Regions from separate parts of the Homo sapiens genome. Here all the other regions are linked to region 6. Evidence: promoter capture Hi-C in 16 types of primary human blood cells and fetal thymus (Javierre and others, 2016). All regions are on one chromosome and are shown on one strand. Each heading gives the region's core, a stretch centred on a gene start or on the middle of the fragment in contact. The rest is flanking DNA. Distances are from core to core; before and after follow the strand shown. Region 1 overlaps RABGAP1L (RAB GTPase activating protein 1 like). Region 2 overlaps RC3H1 (ring finger and CCCH-type domains 1). Region 3 overlaps RABGAP1L (RAB GTPase activating protein 1 like). Region 4 overlaps RABGAP1L (RAB GTPase activating protein 1 like). Region 5 has its middle 7.4 kb from the start of RC3H1-DT. Region 6 holds the start of CACYBP (calcyclin binding protein). Region 7 overlaps RABGAP1L (RAB GTPase activating protein 1 like).

The links. Contacts are between HindIII fragments. The CHiCAGO score rates a contact against its expected background, and 5 or more counts as called.
Region 1: a fragment that was not itself captured here is called in contact with the fragment with the promoter of CACYBP in region 6 in 15 of 17 cell types (naive B cells, total B cells, total CD8 T cells and 12 more); the score reaches 14.8 in naive B cells.
Region 2: a fragment that was not itself captured here is called in contact with the fragment with the promoter of CACYBP in region 6 in 1 of 17 cell types (monocytes); the score reaches 5.6 in monocytes.
Region 3: a fragment that was not itself captured here is called in contact with the fragment with the promoter of CACYBP in region 6 in 3 of 17 cell types (fetal thymus, total CD8 T cells and monocytes); the score reaches 9.4 in fetal thymus.
Region 4: a fragment that was not itself captured here is called in contact with the fragment with the promoter of CACYBP in region 6 in 2 of 17 cell types (M2 macrophages and naive B cells); the score reaches 6.2 in M2 macrophages.
Region 5: a fragment that was not itself captured here is called in contact with the fragment with the promoter of CACYBP in region 6 in 1 of 17 cell types (neutrophils); the score reaches 6.5 in neutrophils.
Region 7: a fragment that was not itself captured here is called in contact with the fragment with the promoter of CACYBP in region 6 in 1 of 17 cell types (M1 macrophages); the score reaches 5.4 in M1 macrophages.

Annotation. Positions count from the first base shown.
Region 1 is chr1:174,258,711-174,261,886 of GRCh38, reverse strand. The region is part of intron 7 of RABGAP1L (RAB GTPase activating protein 1 like); the gene reads right to left. Among named protein-coding and RNA genes, the nearest start is that of RABGAP1L, 100 kb to the right of the region's middle. The HindIII fragment of the contact is 817 bases long and covers 1,360-2,176 here.
Region 2 is chr1:174,006,371-174,009,430 of GRCh38, reverse strand. The region is part of intron 1 of RC3H1 (ring finger and CCCH-type domains 1); the gene reads left to right. Among named protein-coding and RNA genes, the nearest start is that of RC3H1, 14 kb to the left of the region's middle. The HindIII fragment of the contact is 5,748 bases long and covers 1-3,060 here.
Region 3 is chr1:174,162,553-174,165,842 of GRCh38, reverse strand. All of the region lies in intron 1 of RABGAP1L (RAB GTPase activating protein 1 like), which reads right to left. Among named protein-coding and RNA genes, the nearest start is that of RABGAP1L, 4.7 kb to the right of the region's middle. The HindIII fragment of the contact is 151 bases long and covers 1,951-2,101 here.
Region 4 is chr1:174,222,403-174,225,536 of GRCh38, reverse strand. The region is part of intron 3 of RABGAP1L (RAB GTPase activating protein 1 like); the gene reads right to left. Among named protein-coding and RNA genes, the nearest start is that of RABGAP1L, 64 kb to the right of the region's middle. The HindIII fragment of the contact is 5,756 bases long and covers 1-3,134 here.
Region 5 is chr1:174,028,323-174,031,532 of GRCh38, reverse strand. No RefSeq gene overlaps it. Among named protein-coding and RNA genes, the nearest start is that of RC3H1-DT, 7.4 kb to the right of the region's middle. The HindIII fragment of the contact is 8,475 bases long and covers 1-3,210 here.
Region 6 is chr1:174,998,543-175,001,878 of GRCh38, reverse strand. It overlaps CACYBP (calcyclin binding protein), which reads right to left and starts at 1,932. Exons shown (of 6, transcript NM_014412.3): 1 at 1,684-1,932. The coding sequence starts at 1,698. LOC105371622 (a long non-coding RNA gene) reads left to right here and starts at 2,233. Exons shown (of 2, transcript NR_188647.1): 1 at 2,233-2,284. RefSeq lists a silencer at 1,912-2,031 and enhancers at 2,062-2,571, 2,123-2,659, 2,602-2,811. The HindIII fragment of the contact is 3,791 bases long and covers 1,344-3,336 here.
Region 7 is chr1:174,280,733-174,284,053 of GRCh38, reverse strand. The region is part of intron 10 of RABGAP1L (RAB GTPase activating protein 1 like); the gene reads right to left. Among named protein-coding and RNA genes, the nearest start is that of RABGAP1L, 120 kb to the right of the region's middle. The HindIII fragment of the contact is 1,064 bases long and covers 1,039-2,102 here.

The sequences.
Region 1 (3,176 bases), core at 519-3,018, 740 kb after region 6:
TCTAAAATTCTTTATTTTGCTGTAAAAGTTCATAAACGTACTAATTCACATAAGAGAATAAAACATCCAAATCAGACTGACATCTAGGCAACTTCAAGATAGTAACTTGAGTTTTTACCTAAATAAAACTGTAACAACTTGCTAAGGCAAAAGTAAAAATAAGTACTAAGTAAATCCAGCAAAAGACCCTCAGAATGGTCTAACATCAAGTTAGAGCAGTCAAAAAATAATAAACAATTCAAATTCTACTGTCCATCAAATTTAGTGATGTCAACTCACACTAAAAAACTGTTTCATGAGAAGAAGAGAGTCCCTGGGTGATTTTTTCAGTACTCCTTGTCTAGGATATCTTTTCCTCAAGAAAATAACACAAGGAAAGGTACTATCAATCACCCATGCTACACAGTATGGTTCTTATCACTTCAGTTTCTCATTATATAGTTTGTGCTGCAAGCCGGCAAGCACAAATTGAAAACTGAAGCAAAATTGCTACCAAAAGAGGCACATCACTGAACTCTCCAAATGATCAAACTACATGATCTGATATGATCACTGTCATTTAGAAGTGATGTTTTTCTAATGTATATATAATGATTGTATCCCCCCAAATCAATGTGAGATAGAAGTGGCTCATGGAAATCCTTATTTTCCAACAGTGTTGGCCCATGTTACTCACTGCAAATTGAGTTGTGTGCTTATAACAACTCTAATCATTATATTCTGCTTGCTGTATCACTACTTCATTCTGGTTAGCACAAGTATTAATATGAGGGCAGACCCCTGAGAAGAGTGATAGGACAGACATAAAACCTGGTGCCAAAAATCGCTTCCTGATTACCCTTCCCCAAGGCCTGAAACTACCATTATTGGAACCTCTTCATGTTAAGGAATAATAAAGAGGCCCATTTTCTAAATGTATATGGTATTATTTGTCTTGAATCATTTTATCATGAAATAAGAAGTAATACTTGGCAAAAAAAAAAATCAACTAGACAGAGCACTAATGGCAAAGACTGAAAAAATTTCCCCTTCTCTCACCTTTGGAATATTGAGCATAGCAAACTATTCAAAGCATCCAAGTAGGTGCTAAGTAATAGTGCTAGTAATAGTGCATTTAGGTAACAGTGCTAGTAATAGTGTATTTTAAACACTATCAAGGCTTTAAAAATACATATCAATGTGTTAGTATGCAAGAAATCTTTTGCAATATTTCTGTATGTGGTGATACCAAAACCCATAATAATGGCAGCTAGTCAGAGAGAGAAATGATCACCATTTCTGCTTTGGGAACACCAGAAGAGCCTGACCTCATGTACACACACTTTAACATCTCAGCTGGAGACCCTCAATAAGTAAGCTTTGCCCTACCACTCCTCACACATTTCATATACAATGATCTTGCTTTCTCCTCTTAGTTGTTAATGTCAGCTTTCTCTTCTACAAATTGGCTTTTCTCCCAAGGCACTGAGGGTTTGAAATTTCTGAGCAATCACTTGAATGCCCTAACATCTAAGTTCGCACTTTTAAATTCTGCTGAAAAGATACCAAAGAATACCAATTCATTTATCTTCAAACTGGCTTAATTTTAAACCTAGTATATAATCAAGAATTAATTGGGTTTAGCCTTTAAGAGTACACAGTCAGAAATCAGATGACCCTGGTTTAAATCCTGGCTCTACCAGTTTCTGGCCAAGTAACCAAAGTTACTTAACCTGATTAAACCTCTGTTTCATCATCTATAAAATGGAGTAATAGGCCAGGCGTGGTGGCTTACACCTGTAATCCCAGCACTTTGGGAGGCTGAGGCGGGCAGATCACGAGGTCAGGAGTTCAAGACCAGCCTGACCAATATGGTGAAACCCCATCTTTACTAAACATACAAAAATTAGCCGGGTGTAGTGGCGCATGCCTATAGTCCCAGCTACTCAGGAGGCTGAGGCAGAAGAATTGCTTGAACCCGGGAGGCAGAGGTTGCAGTGAGCCAAGATCACACCACTGCACTCCAGCCTGGGTGACAGAGTGAGACTCTGTCTCAAAAAAAAAAAAAAATGCAGTAATAATAACAGTACCTTCCTCATATGTTAAGAAAAGTTGTTCAATGGCCACCAAATAGTAAGTGTTCATTAAATGTTGGCCATTATTATTGCTCTTTTATATCCAGTTATTAAATAAAGCTTAATATGTGATATCCAACATGGGTAATCAAGAAAAGGAAAAGAATATTAAAAGTTTTCATGACTTGAGAACAGTTTTCATACATTCTTTAAAATACATAGGATTTTATTGGTGCAATGTGCAGTTATTAATTCCATATTACAACAAATTTAGCCAATGCTCTAACTTTATAAACTTTTATATACTTTTTATTGATTTAGTCAAGTATTTAAAAAGAAGCAGTAGAGAGTAAGAATATGTGTTCTAGTACTAGATGTACTTAGTTAAAAAGTAATTTTATAGCCTTGGTCAAGTTATGTAACTTTTGTACCTCAGTTTCCTCAACTGAAAAATGAAGATAATAGTACCTATACCTCAGAAATACCACCTAGAACAGTGCCTGGCACTGAGAAAGTGCTAAGTAAGGAGTAAGTAGCTAAGTATAAAGCTCTGTATTCCAAGCACTATAGTAGATGCTGGGGATTCTGGGATAAACAACATAGTGCTTGTTATCAAAAGGGTCAAGACAGACAACTGCAGTATAATTTGCAAAATATCTAGATATAAACAACCCTTAAACCCTTGGATGCACACAGAAATGGCTTCTTTCATAATATATTTTTCAAAAAAAAAAACAGAATATTGGCCAGGCATGGTGGCTCACACTTGTAATCCCAGCACTTTGGGAGGCTGAGGCAAGAAGATCACTTGAAGCCAGGAGTTTGGGACCAGCCCAGACAACTAAGCGAGACCCCGTCTCTATGAAAGATAAATAAGACAACATAAAATTAGCCCAGAGTAGTGGTGGACACCTGTAGTCCCAGCTACTTGGGAGGCTGAGGCAGGAGGATAGCCTGACCCCAGGAGTTCAAGGCTGCAGTGAGCTATGATCACATCACTGCACTCCAGTCTGGGCAACACAGCGAGGTCCTGTCACCAAAAACAAACAAAAAAAAACCCAGAATGTTGATAATTTTACATAATTTAAATAATGATTTTAAAAATTTTTTAATGATAAATTT
Region 2 (3,060 bases), core at 142-2,641, 990 kb after region 6:
AGTTTAACATGTGGTTGGATAGCAGAGGGCTGGGGAGGGATTGAGATTGGGGCATCTATTTGAAATAAGGTGATCAGGGAAGGCCTTCTCTGAAGGAATTCATATATTAATGCCTATACAGAAGTGGGGAGAAGGTTCAGGGTTGGAGGAAGAGTAGGACAAACTATGTTCTTAACCAGGGTCCCTGTTTTTACCAAGCAATAAATAGACTTATCTGTTTATTGTGCAATCCACAGTGGTTAGACTTATCTCAACCTTTCATTTCCTCTTCCCTATAACATGCACACTATACAAACCTAAGCGTGAATTTAATCCCTGAAAGATCATCATTACATATTTTGGAGGAAGTGTCATATTTGATTCTGATACAGCAGCAGCCAGTCAGTAGGTTCTCTAACATTAGCAGCTACTTGGGAATCAGCAAAACATCTCTTTTTTTTTTTTTTTTTTTTTTCAGACAAAGTCTCACTCTGTTGCCTAGGCTGGAGTGCAGTGGTACGATCTTGGCTCACTGCAACCTCCGCCTCCTGGGTTTGAGTGATTCTCCTGCCTCAGCCTCCCAAGTAGCTGGGATTACCGGTGCCCGCCACCACGCCTGGCTAATTTTTGTGTATTTAGTAGAGATGGCGTTTCGCCATGTTGGTCAGGCTGGTCTCAAACTCCTGACCTCAGGTGATCTGCTGGCCTTGGCCTCCCAGAGTGCTGGGATTACAGGTGTGAGTCACCACACCTGGCCAGAACATCCCCTTTTACAATTTAATTTCTGTTTCAAACCGCTTTATATAAAGATAAAATAATAATACAGTATAAACAAGATACATTGTGGCTATAGGATTCTGTGTTTGGAGTTCATGTAGCAATTTTTTCGTTCTTTTAAACCCTTCAAAATGGAATTTTGCTTGCAATAGTAGTTGAGAAATAATTCTAAAATGGAAAATGAATCAGCTCCTCCTCTTCCTCCTTCTCCCTCCTCCTCCCTTCCCCTCTTCTGCTTCTTCCTCTGCTGCTGCTTCTGCTTCCTTCTTTCTTCTTTTCTAAGCACTGTTTTTCAAGTATCTGCAATTAAAAGTCTCTGTGACATTGTTTTCTGGAAATAGTTTGAATTCTAGGAGGCATATTTCAAAACAAAACAAAGTAATGAAATGTCCTTAAGACCTAAGAGATTATGGGGAAATACATTTTAAAAATATTGATGTTATTGCTATTATTAAATATACTAGGTTTTTAATGCAAATAAAATTTCTAGGTCAGAATATATAATTAGATATGTACCTGTTGTGAATACATCTACATGTTTCTAGAATTAGTCAGAACATGATGGCAGCCACCAAATGCCACAAGGAAGTCTAAAGCACAGGATCATAGGGAAAAAGAAATAGAAGCAAGTAATAGGAGACTATTAGTGTGTGACACATATGCTGTGTGATGCATACACTGTTTTCTTGAGTAAAGAGGAGATTTTTGTCTACTTTTTTTATTGACACTCATTTTTGTTCCTTCCAGTTCAACATGAGAAATCTGCTGCATTCAAAATCTACAAGTCATCATTGCTCCAAAAATAAGTTCACAAAGGGTAGCTTCCTAACTGTGATCATTTTAACTGGAGTGCTTTGTAACAGTTTAAAATGTAGTAAATGCTGGGAAAAAAAATCTAACAAAAATAATGTTGTGTGGGCCGGACGCGGTGGCTCACACCTGACATCCTACTGATCTGGGAGGCTGAGGTAGGAGGATCACTTGAGGTCAGGAGTTTAAGACCAGCCTGGGCAATATAGCCCATGTCTACAAAAATTGTAAAAAGTTGCCCGGCATGGTGGCCCATGCTCATAGTCCCAGCTCCTCAGGAGGCTGAGGTGGGAGGGTCGTTTGAACCCAGGGGTTTGAGGCTGCAGTGAGCCATGATCATGCCACTGCACTCCAGCCTCGGTGATAAAGCAAGACCCTGACTCAAATAACAACAACAACAAAACATTGCATGAAAGAAGCCAAGTACAAAAGAATACATACTGATGATTCCGTTATATAGATTTTTTTTTTTTTTGAGATGGAGTCTCGCTCTGTCGCCCAGGCTGGAGTGCAGTGGAGTGATCTCGGCTCACTGCAAGCTCCGCCTCCCGGGTTCACGCCATTCTCCTGCCTCAGCCTCCCGAGTAGCTGGGACTACAGGCGCCCGCCACCACGCCCGGCTAATTTTTTTGTATTTTTAGTAGAGATGGTGTTTCCCCGTGTTAGCCAGGATGGTCTCAATTTCCTGACCTCGTGATCTGCCTGCCTTGGCCTCCCAAAGTGCTGGGATTACAGGCGTGAGCCACTGCGCCTGGCCTGTTATATAGAATTTTAAACCGGGCAAAACTAACCTATTGTGTTAGGAGTTGGGATAGTAGTGATATTTGGGGAAGAATAAAGGAGTAATCATTGGGAGGGATAGTGAGGGGGGGCCTTTTGAGATGCTGATAATGTATGTCTTAAGTATGCAGGTATGCTCACTTTGTGATAATTCGTTGAACTGAACACTCTTGATCTGTATGTATGTTATACTTCATCTTAAAATATCAGTAAGGCGTCTTAAGATATATGATTCATTTTATTTTAGTTCCCTTCTCATTTCTCAGTGAAATATTTTAATAAAATCTTCAAGACAGAGTTATCCTTTTGGTTCTGTTCAAAAGGAATACAGTAGTTGCTGCTACAACCTAATTTTTTCTTTTTAATAAACAAGTAGGTTTAAACAGTTCCAGAGTTCCTACTTAAAACCAGTCATGCTCAGATTAAACCCAAAACAGGCATCATTTAATTTATATCTTTAATTATGGCTGACTAATGATTATTAAAAAGTATAATAAAAAGTTACAAGTGCTCAAAGTTGGAAGGCATGGTGTTATAGTGGAAAAAATACAGGTTTTGGAGTCAGATAGATGTGGGTTCAAATTATGACTAAATCACTAAGTTAGCTGAGTAACTGAGTTTTCTTTCCTTCCTTCATCAGTAAAGTAGAGGTAATAATATCTATGTCAGAAGGTTGTTGGAAAGGTTAAATGAGATAGTGATTGGCAGTCAAAC
Region 3 (3,290 bases), core at 777-3,276, 840 kb after region 6:
TCCACATGTCCAAATCCTACCCATTCTTCAAAGCATAGTTCAGGGGCCGGGCGTGGTGGCTCACAACTGTAATCCCAGCACTTTGGGAGGCCGAGGCAGGAGGACAGTTTCAGTCCAGAAGTTCAAGAACAGCCTGGGCAACATAATGAGACCCCGTCTCTACAAGTAATGAAAAATTAGCCAAGCATGTTGGTGTGTGCCTATATAGTCCCAGCCACTTGGGGGCTGAGGCAGAAGAACTGTTAGAGGCCAGGAAATCAAGGATGCAGTGAGCTGTGATGGCACCACAGCACTCAGTTTGAGTAACGGGAGTGAGATGCTGTCTCCAAATTAAAAAAAAAAAAAAAAGTAGTTCAAATGTCACCTCTTCTTTTATCCTTAAAACTAAAAGTAGACCGGGCACGGTGGCTCACGCCTGTAATCCCAGCACTTTGGGAGGCTGAGGCGGATGGATCACCTGAGGTCAGAAGTTCAAAACCAGCCGGGCCAACATGGCGAAACCCCGTCTGTACTAAAAATACAAAAATTAGCCTGGTGTGGCAGTTGGCGCCTGTAATCCCAGCTACTCAGGGAGGCTGACGCAGGAGAATCACTTGAACCTGGGAGGCAGAGGTTGCAGTGAGCCGAGATTGTACCACTGTACTCCAGCCTGGGTCAAAAACGAAAAACAAACAAACAAACAAAAATAAAAGTAATCTCTCCCTCCTCTCTAAACTCTTATAGTTCCTTATCTTTATCTTTTTACCACCCATTACTTTCTGCCTTTCATTATCACTGTTGTTTCCATATTTAATCCCCCACCTAAGCATAAAGTCCTCAGGGTCAAGGTCCATCTTTATTCAAACTGATTAACACAATCCCTTATACACACTAAGTGAGGTTAGGAAAGAAGCCCACCAGAAACAACTCCAGATTGAGTCCAGAGCCCTGGCTTTGCTAATAACTCACTATCTGACCTTGGCCTTGAGGCTCTTAGTATGTTCCTTCACTTACAAAGTTAAGAGGGTAGGCTAAACTAGTTGTATTTGTTGTTAAATGTAGGCTATAATCCATTAGCTGGGTGTAAAATTAATTTGGAAGTCAAAACCCAGCATTTTTAAAATGAAATGAAATAACAGAATATATCAATGTGTGTTATAAGCAGTGGGGTGCTATAAATGTTTAACAACTACCTATGAGGAGGGAAGCCCTAAGAATACCATTTGCTGAATTTCCTGGTGTAAATATTCCCACCATGACCAATTTTGAGCTACCAACATGATGTCACTGGACAAAGAGCTAGATAGGAAGAAATATGCACAACTGGTCTTGCAAGCCATTATAGCTAACTCAGTAGGGCCCTGAAAAGATAAATATTATTTCACCAAACTTTCAACTTTGTGTGTGTGTGCGCTTGCGGAATCAAGTAGTAAAATGTATTTTTTATTGTGGGTCACAGTCAAATGAGTTTAATAAATGTTCAGGTAAACAATCTCCTGGTGTCCTTCATGTATACTACATAATTTGATAAATCTTACTCTTGGTTACAGATGTCTCTTCACCACAATTCATATTTTTCTTCAAAAATGGGAGTAACAAACTGATATCACCAGAAGGCAAATTACACAGAGCAGGAATTTGGTTTATGGAATATCAGCCAAGTGCCAAGGTTTTTAGCATTTGTTCAGCCCTACATACCTGAAGGATATAACACACTCCTACTATCAATGGCTCACTTAGCAATGGGTTGGGGGGCAGGTAGGGGGTAAGAGGAGGAAATCCATAGTATAAAAAAAAAATCCAGATAATTCTAGTATTTGTGCTCATGTTCCCACCCCACTGAATACCCAGATACACAGAAAATTAGAGCAGTAAAAAGTAAATGTTCCATGCCTGATGTTTCCCAATCAAATTCCCTTGCATCCCTCAATGAGACTTCCATTACTAAGAATCACCTACTGGAACTAAGCTTTTACCATGGACTAGGGATGCATAGTTCTTGCTGAATTTAGAACAGGCAACAGGGAAAATAACACAGCAAACAGTTGTTAGGCTTCATATTCTGGGAAAATCAGCCTTTTATTAAAAAAAAAAACTGTCTTATTTTCCTCTTATTTAAGCTTACTAAACTGGGTGAGAATTTTCTTAAATATATTTTTGGCTGTACTATGTCTATCACAACACAGCCTGTAACCAGATTTTTCATGAGTATTTATAAAGAATTGTGTTGTTGTTGGGTTTTTTTTTTTTTTAAGCCCAACAGCACTGGCAAATGTTTTCTACTTTAAAAGCTATTTAGAAAATAAGAAGGCTCAGAATTTCAAGTATACTAATAATCTTAGCCCAAATCTAACTCTAAATCAACTGAATATATGCCTAGAACTTTCCCAGGAAAATCCCCAAAAAGTACACCAAAAAACACCAAAAGATAACAAAAAAGAGTTAGCATGCGCATAAACTTCGTATACCCAATTATGCCATCCCATCTGTTGAATAAGAGCAATATGGGAAGTAAACGAAGTATAAAAAGAAGATGTTCAGAGATGCAAGCTCTTCTTAATTCATTAACTCTTCCTTATTAGGGTCCACTGATGTTCACATACTTATACCCAATTCAAATACTGACTATAAAGTCAAAATTATTTCCCGTTCTGAAAGTCTAGGAGTCAAACAATGTCTTTCTCTATAATATCAGCATTAAAACTCTCCTTTAAAAATGAGTATGTTTTACCATAACTCAGGCTCAAGTCCGTACTTTCTCCGCCTCCACTGTTTGTAATGGCAAAATGCTCATCAGATCATCTCCACAAGAAACCCCTGAGCCATCTTTGAAATACCAGCACCTGGTGCGCTGCACCCACTAACTCATCATCTAGCATTAGGTATATCTCCCAATGCTATCCCTCCCCCCTCCCCCCTCCCCACCACAGTCCCCAGAGTGTGATATTCCCCTTCCTGTGTCCATGTGATCTCATTGTTCAATTCCCAGCATGGCACATGTATACATATGTAACTAACCTGCACAATGTGCACATGTACCCTAAAACTTAAAGTATAATTAAAAAAAAAAAAAAAAAAAAAAAAAACAGAAAGAGAAAAAAAAAAAAAAAGAAATACCAGCACCTGGAATAGCCTTGGGCTGCTGGTCATCCTCAGACTCAACGGCTGACCCATTTATATAAGTCAAGAGTTATAAAAATATAGAACTCATTAAAATTAAGACATAAGCAAGCTCTGTGCCTGGGAATCCCATAGGCTTACAGCAACAACTTCATTCTCCAAACCCCCTCTAACCAGTCATAATGATCCAT
Region 4 (3,134 bases), core at 148-2,647, 780 kb after region 6:
ACCAGGTGGAATGTCTGCTTTAAAAAAAAAAAAAAAAAAAAAGTCAACATTCTTCAGAGGATTTTAACAAGAAATAGTCTCAAAACATAAGATTCGAAAACTCTGGGAACAAGCCAATTACTCAACAAACATAAAAGGGTGATCTATTCTCAAGTGAAAAAATAATCCACAGACCAATCCCAAGATGTCCCAGTTGCTCCATAAATAATCCATAAAATAAACGTGAAAACACCTGTAATGAATAAAAATATCAAAACTATCCACAGAGAAACAAAAAAACTTTAAAAAACAATGTAAATTTAAAAACAGAAAAATACAATATCTAAAATTAAAAATTCATCAGACGATCTCAATAGCAGAATGGAGATTAACAAAGTAAAAAGTCAGTGAGCTTGAACACAGGGAAAACAATGAAAAGAGCCTAAGGAATTGTGAGAACGGTATGGAAATGTCTACCATTTTTGTCTACTGAGTCCCAGAAAAGAAAGAGATTAGTGTAGAAACAAAACAATTACCAAGAAATAATGGGTGAAAACTCCCAAATTTGGTTAAAGATATAAATTTACAGATTCAAGAATCTCAGTGATCCAAAAAAAAAAGATAAACTCAAAGAAAACCACACACAGATAATCAAACTGCTGAAAACAATGAAATAAAAGTACTGAAAGCAAAGAAAAATAACATATTACAAATAGGAGAACAATGATTCAAATCCCTTCAGATTTGTTATCAGAAACAATGGAGACAAGAAGACACTGGAAAAGCATTTTTAAAGTGCTCAAGGAAATATACGTATGGCTGTTGAAAGCAAAATTATTAGACTGGTAGGTTTTTCAATGTATGTATATGTAATACATGTCAATATCAGGAATGAGAGGATATTAATACACATCCTGCAGACATTAAAAGGATAATAAGAGAATATTACTCTATAACAGAGAAACAACTCTATCCCCATACTTAGGTGAAATTAACCAATTACTTGAAAGATGAAAACACCAAAGTACACTCAAGAAGAAATAGATAACCTAAATGGTCTTTTGCACTCAGATTTAAAATTTTTTTTTGAGATGGAGTCTCACTCTGCTGCCTAGGCTGGAGTGCAGTGGTGTAATCTTGGCTCACTGCAACCTCCGCCTCCTGGGTTCAAGCCATTCTCCTGCCCAGATTCTCAGCTGGGATTACAGGCATGAACCACCATGCCCGGCTAATTTTTGTATTTTAGTAGACACCGGGTGTCACCATGTTGGCCAGGCTGGTCTTGAACTCCTGACCTCAAGTAATCCACCCACCTTGGCCTCCCAAAGTGCTGGGATTACAGGTGTGAGCCACCATGCCCAGGCCAGACTTAAATTTTTCTATAATGATATGCAACTATCTTTTCCTTTTGTGATTTGGCTTTTCCTACCTTGACAATCACAAAAATATGCTCCATTGTTTTCTTCTTACAGGCTTATTTCTCACTTTAAATATCTGATTCACTAAAAATAATTTTTATGTACAACTAAGGAACCTAATTTTATTTTATTGCACTCAAAGATGCAACTGTCCCAACACTATTTACTGCATAGTTACCATTTCCCCCAGTGGTATGTGAAGCGAATTCTGTCATATACTGAAATCCTTTATATACATAGGTTTGTTTCTGGTACCCTGTTCTAGTGATTCACTTCTATAACAAGCCAATATCACATTGGTTTAATCACTGTAACTCTGTAGTCTATCTTAATACATAATATTCTTTTTAAAAATTTTCTTAGCTACCTGTGTACCTCTACTTGTCCAGATACATTTCAGAATGTTTATAAAAATAACTGAAAATTTGAAATTCCCACCCAAGTTACAGACTAATTTGGAGATAAGTTACATCTTTTCAAGGTTGACTCCTATCAATCAACATGGCATCTCTCCCCATTCATTCAGGTGTTCATTTCCTTCAATAACATTTTATAATTTTATTAAAATTTTACATAAATTTTTGTTTCTTCCTTGTTACCTATTATTTTTGTTGGTATTATGAATGGCAATTTTATTTTCTACTGTTGGTGCTAACCTTCCTAAAAGTCGTTAAATCTTTTTTTTTTTTTTTTTTTTGAGATGGAGTCTCACTCTGTTGCCCAGGTTGGAGTGCAGTGGCATGATCTCAGTTCATTGCAACCTCCACCTCCTGGGTTCAAGTGACTTTTCTGTCTCAGCCTCCTGAGCAGCTGGAATTTCAAGTGTTCACCACCCTGCCCAGCTAATTTTTTTTTTTTTTTTTTTTTTTTTTTTTAGACAGAGTCTCACTGTCACGCAGGCTGGAGTGCAATGGTGCAGTCTTGGCTCACTGCAACCTCTGCCTCCCAGGTTCAAGCGATTCTCTCGCCTCAGCCTCCTGAGTAGCTGGGACTACAGGCATGTGCTGCCACACCCAGTTAATTTTTGTATTTTTAGTAGAGACGGGGTTTCACTATATTAGCCAGGCTGGTCTGGAACTCCTGATCTCGTGACCTGCCCATCTTGGCCTCCCAAAGTGGTGGGATTACAGGCTTGAGCCACCCCGCCCAGCCATTTTTGTATTTTTAATAGAGACGGGGTTTTGCCATGTTGGCCAGGCTGGTCTCAAACTCCTGACTTCAAGTGATCTGCCCGCCTCACCCTCCCAAATTGCTGGGATTACAGGCATGAGCCACCATGCCTGGCAAAAAGTCTTTAAATCTAATAGCTTATCCATTCACTTTCTTAAATACTTTACCAATCATGAGAATTTTTTCACTTTTTTTCTAATCACACTTCATTTCTTTTTCCTGTCATCTTGCATTGGCTGGATTCTTTAGTACAACGTCAAAGAGCTATGGTGATAGCTATCATGCCCTAACTGCTCCTGTTTCAATATATCTTGATGGTAACGCATTTTAAATTTCAGCATAAAACATAAGACTTTGATAGATATTTGATTAAGCAAGTTTCCTTCTAAGTTTTCCAAGAACTTTACATGTGCATATACATGTAAAATTTTAAATTTTATCCAGTGCTTGTTCTTTATCTACTGATACTTTTTCACTCTTCACCACTTTATGTGGTAAACCACACTGAAAGATTTTTCTAATGCTTAATCATCCTTGCCATGGAAGGCACTGTGATTACATTCCCTA
Region 5 (3,210 bases), core at 706-3,205, 970 kb after region 6:
TGAACTGCCTCCAAGTGATAGGGATAATCTTTGATCCCTAACCTCTTAGAAAAACAAAAAACTCTAAAGACTCCCCCAAGTCCAGATCATACAAAGTGAAGTATGGAGCAAAAGGAAGTTTCTCCTCCATATTGCTTAAAGCATTATGTTTCAAATTCTAGTTTCCTGAATGATTTACATATGAATGTCCAACTTTTTCTTAACTGATATTCATGATCGGATAAACCTAATATTGCCCAATAGATATTGAATATACATTTGTGCTAGAGGACATCATTTGGTTACAAAGTATATTGAACTCAGTATATCTAGAATTGTATGTTTAGATAGACAGAGCCCCACACGAGGTTCCAATAATTAGTTATATAAACAAACAGTCATCTTTCCCTTCACTTTCAGTCTACAAGAGTCCTTTAAGGCAATGATCCCCAAACTTTTTGGCACCAGGGAACAGTTTCTTTGAAGACAATTTTTCCATGGACAGGCCAGGCGTGAGGGATGGCTTCAAGATGAAACTGTTCCACCTCAGATCATCAGGCATTAGATTCTTGCATGTGCATTTCACAGTAGGGTTCATGCTCCTATGAGAATCTAATGCTGCCACTGATCTGACAGGAGGCAGAGCTGAGGCGGTGATGCTCTCTTGCTAGCTGCTCATTTCCTGCTGTGTGTCCAGGTTCCTAACAGGGTACAGACCTGTACTGGTCCATGGACCAGACGTTAGGGACCCCTGCTTTAAGGTGAAGTGAGTCTTATGTAGGCAGCATATACTTTGGTCTTGTTTTTTGTTTGTTTTTAGAGATAGGGTCTCATTCTGTTGCCCAGGCTGGAGTATGGCAGCACAGTCATAGCTCACTGCAGCCTCCAACTCCTGGGCTCAAGTGATCCTCCCACCTCAGCTTGCTGAGTCACTGGGATTACAGGGGTGAGCCACTGTGCCAGCTCCAAGGGTCTTTTTTTTTTTTGAGATGAAGTTTCACTCTTGTCACCCAGGCTAAAGTGCAATGCACGATCTCGGCTCACTACAACCTCCGCCTCCTGGGTTCAAGTCATTCTCCTGCCTCAGCCTTCTGAGTAGCTGGGATTACAGGTGCCCACCACCATGCCTAGCTAAGTTTTTTTTTTTTTTTTTTTTTGAGATGGAGTTTCACTCTTGTTGCCCAGGCTGGAGTGCAATGGTGTGATCTCGGCTCACTGTAACCTCTGCCTCCTGGGTTTAAGCAATTCTCCTGTCTCAGCCTCCTAAGTAGCTAGGATTACAGGCGCCTGCCACCATGCCCGGCTAATTTTTGTATTTTTAGTACAGACAAGGTTTTGCCAAGTTTACCAGGCTGGTCTCGAACTCCTGACCTCAGGTGATCTGCATGCCTTGGCCTCCCAAAGTGCTGGGATTACACACCTGGCCTCTAAGGGTCTTGTTGTTGTTGTTTTTTTTTAATCTTTTCAGCCACTCTATGCCTTTTGATTAGATAATTTAATCCATTTACATTCAAAGTAATTACGTATAGGTAAGGACTTATAAGTGCCATTTGAAAAATTGTTTGCTGGGTTTTTTTTTCTTTTCTTTTTTCTATGTTTTTTTTTTTTTACTTATTATACTTTAAGTTTTAGGGTACATGTGCACAATGTGCAGGTTAGTTACATATGTATACATGTGCCATGCTGGTGCGCTGCACCCATTAACTCGTCATCTAGCATTAGGTATATCTCCCAGTGCTATCCCTCCCCCCTCCCCCCACCCCACAACAGTCCCCAGAGTGTGATGTTCCCCTTCCTGTGTCTATGTGTTCTCATTGTTCAGTTCCCACCTATGAGTGAGAATATGTGGTGTTTGGTTTTTTGTTCTTGCGATAGTTTACTGAGAATGATGATTTCCAATAAACTGGGTTTTTTTAAAATTATTGTTTTGTTATTCTGGTTGATTTGAAGTTCCTTGTTCCTTTCTTCCCCTCTCGTTTTCTTCCTTTGTGGTTTGATGATTTTCTATAATGGTATGATTTAAATTTTTTCTTATCCTTTGCATGCATATATATATGTGTATATATATATATATATATATGTATTTTGGTTTATTTTTAGACTAAGTCTCATTCTGTTGCTCAGCCTGGAGTGCAGTGGCATGATCTTGGCTCACCGCAACCTCCACCTCCCAGATTCAAGCGATTCTCCAGCCTCAGCCTCCCGAGTAGCTGGGACTACGGGCGTGCGCCACCATGCCTGGCTAATTTTTGTATTTTTAGTAGAGACAGAGTTTCACTATGTTGTCCAGGCTGGTCTTGAACTCCTGACCTCATGATCCGCCAGCCTCAGCCTCCCAAAGTGCTGGGATTACAGGCGTGAGTCACTGTGCCTGGCCTGCATACCTATTATGGGCTTTTGCTTTATGGTTACCCTGAGGCTTACATAAAACATCTTATACTTATCCCGGCCAGGCGTGGTGGTTCATGCCTATAATCCCAGCTACTCAGGGGGCTGAGGTAGGAGAATTGCTTGAACTAGGGAGGCAGAGGTTGCAGTGAGCTCCAGCTGCACTCCAGCCTGGGCAACAGAGCGAGATTCCATCTCAAAAACAAAACAAAAATCTTATACTTATCCATTTTACACCAATAATAACATGCTGCCATGTGGGATTACGTTTAAAAAACAAAAAGCCACCCAGACTGTGGCATTTGGTGTGATAGCCCTAGCAAACTAATAGTGAAAACAACAATATTCCAGTGAGTTTTGCCACTGGAAAAGTGGAGCTACTTTCTCTTAACCTAACTGCCTAGAGTGGACCACTTTGCTGAAAGTTGTTTGATATCTCTTTTGTAAAGGCATTCTGTTTATCATTGGCTTCAGATAAGTCTCTAAGGGTCAGCTGAAGTTCAGACAGCTCAATGTTGGGCTGGAGGCCTTTATGGAAGGCAGGCCAATTTAGAAGCAATTTCATGTAAGACTCAGAAACATCATTTTACTTAACTCTTTTGGAATCTCAAGTCTGCAGGAACCTAGCTCTTGAAATCTCAGAACTAAATTGGGCTATATTTGCCATGTGATTAACACCCTGAATCTACAGCAATCCGTTAGGCTTAATTTGCAGATGATGATTTGGGTCTGATTTTGGACTTGACTCCAAAGGTGTAGGGTAGGTCAGACACCATCGGTTTCCTCATATTTCTATAGTGTATTGCATGGGACATCTTCCTCTGCTTCTTATTTTTTAGAGTT
Region 6 (3,336 bases), core at 683-3,182:
TCCCAGCTTCTCAGGAGGCTAAGGCAGGAGAATCCTTTGAACCCGGGAGACGGAGATTGCAGTGAGCCGAGATTGCGCCATTGCACTCCAGCCTGGGCGACAGAGCGAGACTCCGTCTCAAACAAAGAAGTGGAAATAAATGTCCATAAACGGATGAAAGGATAAACACAATGTGCCACATGCATATAATAGAATATTATTTAGCCATAAAGAGCATGTGTACTGATACACGCTACACCATGGATGAACTTGAAAATGTTAGTGCTAAGTTGAAGGAGCCAAAAAACAAAAGGCCACATACAGCGTGACTCCATTTATATGAAATGCCTACAATAGGCAAATTCACAGAAAGTACAAGATGAGTAGTTGTCAGGGGCTGAGGGAGGAATGGGAAGCAATTGTTTAAAACACACTACATGGTTTCTTTCTGGAGTGATGAAAATGTCCTGAAACTAGACAGTGGTGATGGCTGCACTACACTGTGAATATATTTAAACAAAAAACAAATACCTGAATTGTACACTTTAAAATGGTTAAAAACTTGAATTTTATCTCAAACAAAACAAAAATCAAGTGCCCTCAAATGTATATTTCTAAGTGCCTAAACTGAGAACGATCTCTACTTTCAAGAGGACTAACACTGAGCTATCCACCTGCAAGACTGTGAAGTTATCTCCTAGGGGCACATAGTACCCAAGACCTACCTTAAAAGACTTGTCACAAGATACCCAGATTAATACTGGAACACACAAACCTCATAGTTTTTCTTCATTTAAAGAAAAGATTTTGAGTTTAAAAAACAAAAACAAAACAAAACAAAAGCTTGGGACTCCCCAGTACTTGTTTTCATAAAGCAAATCTAGTTAATACACACCCAACACTTAACTGTGAATAACTGTCCCGTCTTCACCTCCCACTTACGCCAGGAAATGAGCAATACAAGTACTATCATTCCCATTTTCTAACTGAGCAAACTAAGTCTCCACAAAATTTAATTCTCCAACGTTCAGAGTTTACAGAGCTTTAACACAGGCCATTCGCTTTCTTACTATTAATTACAACTAACTTTCCAAGTTATTTATTTTAAAAATCACATACAGCAGATTGCTGTTTGCCAATCACTGACTTAAACACCTAGAAATCATATTTTTTAACAACCCTATGAAATGGATGCTACTGCGACACAGAGAAGCTAAACAACTTGCCCAGAGTAACACAGCTCCTCGTGTGTAGAGAAAACCTGACTAGGAGAATTCAAGTGCTAGCACTGAGAACTCACCTTCCAACCGCCCTCTACCAAGAACGACACTCATGTTTGCACCCAGCTTTGCTTGAATGAAGCTTCCTGTCCACTGGCTGGGAAACCAGGGCAGAAAGGGCCTGAGGAACACGCGCAAAGGGCCGCTCTCCCAGACCCACTCCCCGCACCGCCTGCACGGATAATCGCCGCACACCCCCGCTCGAGCCCAGCAGGCGAGTGGGGTGCGAGGTCGAGTGGAAGCGCTGGGGAGCCGACGGCGCAGCAAGGGGCGAGTGAGGTGTCCCCCGGGAAGGCGGCGCACTGACTGGCGCGGGACCGGGTGGCCGCAGGGCGGCTCAGCCCACGGAAACGGCGGTAGGGCGGGAGGCTGGCGCTGCAGCTCCAGCCGGGGGGCATAAGGAATATGGGGCCGGACCACTTACCTCTTCTGAAGCCATGGGGGCTGGGTCAGGCCGAAGTCCCGAGCTGCAGCCGCGCAGAAGGAGGAACAGGAAACCCCGCGCCGAGCCCTCAAACCGAGCGCAGACGCCTACCCGCACGAGTCGCGGCGCTGCAGCCTGCGCCCACACCGACCCTGCGCAAGATCGCGGCCCGCCTCCCGCACGCGACGGATCTCGAACCTTCGCGAGGCAGCCGCCGCCACCGCCCACCGCGAGCACGCACAGCCCGCCAAGCCTGGCTCCACCCACCCTTCCTCGCCTCGCCGAGCCTAGCCCCACCCCTCCCCGCCCCGCCGAGTCTGGCTCCGCCCGCCTGCCGAATCTCCTAGCAACGCTCAAGTCTCGCGAGCGAACCGGCAATCCGAGAAGAGTAATGTCTTGCTCTCCGCCCTGACAACTTTTATGTATTATAATTTGACCGCGCTGGGCCACGCTGCGCAGTCGCAGCTCGGAACCGCTGCGTTAACCCAGCCCCGGAAATAACGTACCGATCTTCGGAGTCCAAGTCGGAAGTTGACTAGAGAGTCACCTGCTTTCGTCCGCTCTAGGACACCAGACACACCAGGCCGCCATGTTGTGTAAGGTTAGTCTCTCAGCCTCCGCGAGAAGAAGGCGAAAAATGGGGAGGAGCAGCCTGGTTACTTTCAAACGAGAAAGAACGGATATGTTAAGCGTGGAGGGCTCCTAATGGTAGCGGTTTGATTTTCAGTGAGTTTGGCGCGGTGGAGACGTCACCGCGGTCTAACAGTTCCGACGTGGTGGCGTCATCACTGGCCGCCGTAGGAGGTGGAGCTACGTTGGCCTCGTGACCGGGCCCTGTAGCGGAAGCCCAGGTCAAGGCCCTAACAAAAGGGCCCGCCTATGGCCACAGTTTCAGGCCCTCCTTTCAGTCATGGACTGTTGAAGCACGATTTCCTGGTGCTTTCGCCCCTTTCACCGACCATTTCAAGAGTCCGTAGTTCTCGCCTGGGTTTGGATTCGGTATAAGTGAGCCTGTTTACCATCAAAGAAAATGGTGAAATGTCTTCTGGAGACGATGTTCTCTTCTGGTTCTAACCCTGTCACTCAGTGAGACCCCCAGAGAAGCCTAGTTTTCAGATTATTCTAGTCCTTGGCAGGCTCAAGATGTCAACAACACGGTTGGAAACAACCCCTGAGAGGTCACATAGCGCGCACTCAGCTTTACAGATCGTCCAAGGCAGCGACCCCTGAGAGGTCACATAGCGCGCACTCAGCTTTATAGATCGTCCAAGGCAGCAATTAGAATCAGCAACTCGGAGAGGAAAAAAAGCTGTTAGCGGAATGGAGGCTGACCATTATCTGTAGTAAAGAATCGGAAGTACAGTACAAAAATAAATTACCGAAACGCAACATGCGTGAATTTCACACAAAAAAATGAAGTTGAGGGAAAGAAGCCAGACATGGAAGAGTTCATATTGCGTGGTTCCATTTAAAAACTAGCCCATGGTGTTAATGAGCATAGTGGGGAGGACAATGACATGAAAGAGCCACCAGGGGGCTTTTGAGGTTCAGGTAATGTTTCTTGATTTGGACACTGATTATAGATAGGTGGGTTCACTTTAGAAATCTCATTGAGTTGTAAACGTATATTTATGTACGTAGTTTTTTCTGTAG
Region 7 (3,321 bases), core at 321-2,820, 720 kb after region 6:
ATTTCACAATATATATGTATCAAATCATCACATTGTACACCTTAAGTCTATTCCGTTTTTTCAATTATACCCTGAGATGAAAAATTCATGAACTAGGTAGAGATAAATTAAAGTATGTGTAAAACCTGTATACTAAAAGTGACATAACTGCTGAGATAAATTAAAGAAGAGCTAAATAAATGAAGTGATACTCCATGAGACAGGCCATGTTTATTGAAGACTCACTCTTAAGACAGCAACTCCTAAAGGACAGGTGCAGTGGCTCACGCCTATAATCCCAACACTTTGGGAGGCCGAGGAGGGTGGATCACTTGAGGTCAGGAATTCAAGACCAGCTTGGCCAACATGCCAAAACCTCGTCTCTACTAAAAATACAAAAATTAGACAGGCGTGGTGGTGGGTACCTGTAGTCCCAGCTACTCGGGAGGCTGAGGCAGGAGAATCACTGGAACCTGGGAGGCAGAGGTTGCAGTGAGCTGGGATGGTGCCACTGCACTCCAGCCTGGGCAACAAGTTGAGACTCCGTCTCAAAAAAACAAACAAACAAACAAAAAAAACAGCAACTCTTCCCAAAATCATTTACATATTCAGGCATTCTCAGTCAAAATCTGGGAATGCATTTTTCTTTTTTTTATTATTATTTTTTAGAGATGGGGTGTCACTCTGTGGCCCAGGCTGGAGTGCAAGTGGCATGATCACGGCTCACTGAAGCCTCAACCTCCTGGGCTCAAGCAATCCTCCCACCTCAGCCTCCTGAGAAGCTGGGACCACAGGTGCACACCACCACGCTTGGGTAATTTTATTTTACTTTTTTTTACAAACTGAGTCTTGCTATGTTGCCTAGGCTGGTCTCAAACTCCTGGCCTCAAGTGATCCTCCTGCCTCAACCTCCCAAAGTACTGGGACTACCAGTGTGAGCCACTGCGTCCAGCCTGGGCATGCATTTTTCTACAAACTGACAAACTAATCCTAAAATTCAGATGGAAATGCAAAGAACTCGCAACAAATAAAACTAAGAATGAGAAAGGTTGGGAAGCTTACAACACAGACTTTAATACATAATATAAAGTTATAATGAGCAAGACTGTGTGGTACTCACATAGAGTTCAATGGAAGAGAAATAGTGTCCCAGAAACAGACTTATACATCTACAGTCAATTAATTTTAGACAAACTAATTCTATAGATAAAAGAGTCTTTTCAACAAATGATGCTGGAACAACTGTATACCCACATGAGAGAGGTGTGGGAAGATGACCTCAAGCCTTCATGCCATACATACAAATTAACAGAAAATAGGTAATAGGCCTGAAACTATAAAGTCTTTACAGGAAAACATAAAGAACATCTTCACAACCTTGAGGTAGGCAAAATTTCCTTAGATAGGACACAAAAAAAGCAAAAACAATAAAATAAAATATTAATATGACTTCATCGAAATGTAAAACTTCAGTTCTTCAAGAGACATTATGAAAATAAAAAGGCAAGCCACTGTCAGGAAGAAACTATTTGAAATATGTGTATCTGACAAAAGAAAATATATTCAGAAAATATAAACAACTCTTGCAACTCAGTAAGACAAACAAAAAGTGGACAAAAATTTTAGACATTTTATAAAGAAGATATATGAATGATTAATAACCATAAGAAAAAAATGCTCAAAATCATTACTCAATGTGAAATGTAAATTGACATTGCAATGAGATACATCTACACACCCCTAAGAATAGCTACAATTTAAAAGACTGACGATACTAAGTGCTGGCAAGGATGAGGAGAAATTGGGACACACATATACTGCTGGAGGGAAAATAAAGTGGTCAAGCACTGTAGAAAACAGTTTGGCAGTTTCTACTTACCATACCACACAGCAATTCCATTTCTTGGTATCAACCCAAAAGAAATGAAAATCTATGTCCACAGAAAGATACAGCAGCTTTAATTAACCACATGAACCAAAAATGGAAACAACTCAAATTGCCAACATATGATCTAATAAATTATGGTACAGCTATACAAAGGAATAACATTCAACAATAAAAAGATTAACAACTGACATACAACATGGATGGATCTCAAAGGCATTGTTACATGAAGAAAGCTTTTACATAAAAGAAGCATATGATTCCAGTTACTGTAATGACAGCACATCAGTCATTGCCTGAGGCTGAAGGTGAGAAAGATTAGCTGGCATGGACACTATAGAACTTTTAAGAGTGAGGGATCTTAATTTTGGTGGTAATTATTCATGTGTATAAATTTGTCAAAACTCATCAAAATGTACTATTAAATGGGTGCATATTACTGTATGCTAACTACCTCAATAAAGTTGATTTAGAAAAGAACTCTGAACGTGGACTCCAAAGTTTCACATGGCCAGGGGCCTACTTGCCTTTCATCATCAGCTACTGTGCTTCCCAGTCTTTCTAGTTCTCTGGGCATTTATACTTGGTGTTTCCCACTTACACCTAATTAATGTCTACTCCCCTTAGACTCAGGTCAAGGTGAGAGGCGAATCCGGCTGGGCTTCTGGGTCGGGTGGGACTTGGAGAACTTTTCTGTCCAGCTAAAGGAGCGTAAACGCACCAATCAGCACTCTGTCTAGCTAAAGGTTTGTAAACACACCAATCAGCACTCTGTAAAAACGCACCAGTCAGTGCTCTGTGTCTAGCTAATGGTTTGTAAACACACCAAACAGCACTCTGTAAAAACAGGCCAATCAGCACTCTGTAAAATGGACCAATCAGCGCTCTGTAAAATGGACCAATCAGTGCTCTGTAAAATGGACCAATCAGCAGGGCGCAGGCTGGGCCAAATAAGGGAATAAAAGCTGGCCACCTAAGCCAGCAGCAGCAACCCGCTCGGGTCCTCTTCCACTCTGTGGAAGCTTTGTTCTTTTGCTCTTCACAGTAAATCTTGCTGTTGCTCACTCTTTGGGTCCGCACTACCTTTATGAGCTGTAACACTCACCGCGAAGGTCTGCAGCTTCACTCCTGAAGCCAGCAAGATCACGAACCCACCGGGAGGATCAAACAACTCCAGACACGCCACCTTTAAGAGCTGTAACACTCACTGCAAAGGTCTGCGGCTTCACTCTTGAAGTCAGTGAGACCATTAACCCACCAGAAGGAAGAAACTCCAGACACATCTGTACATCTGAAGGAACAAACTCTGGACACACCATCTTTAAGAACTGTAACACTCACCGCAAGGGTCCGCGGCTTCATTCTTGAAGTCAGCAAGACCAAGAACCCACTGAAAGGAACCAATTCCGGACACAAAAGGACTTTCTCTAGTTTACTTTCCCAGCCTCTAGTTTACT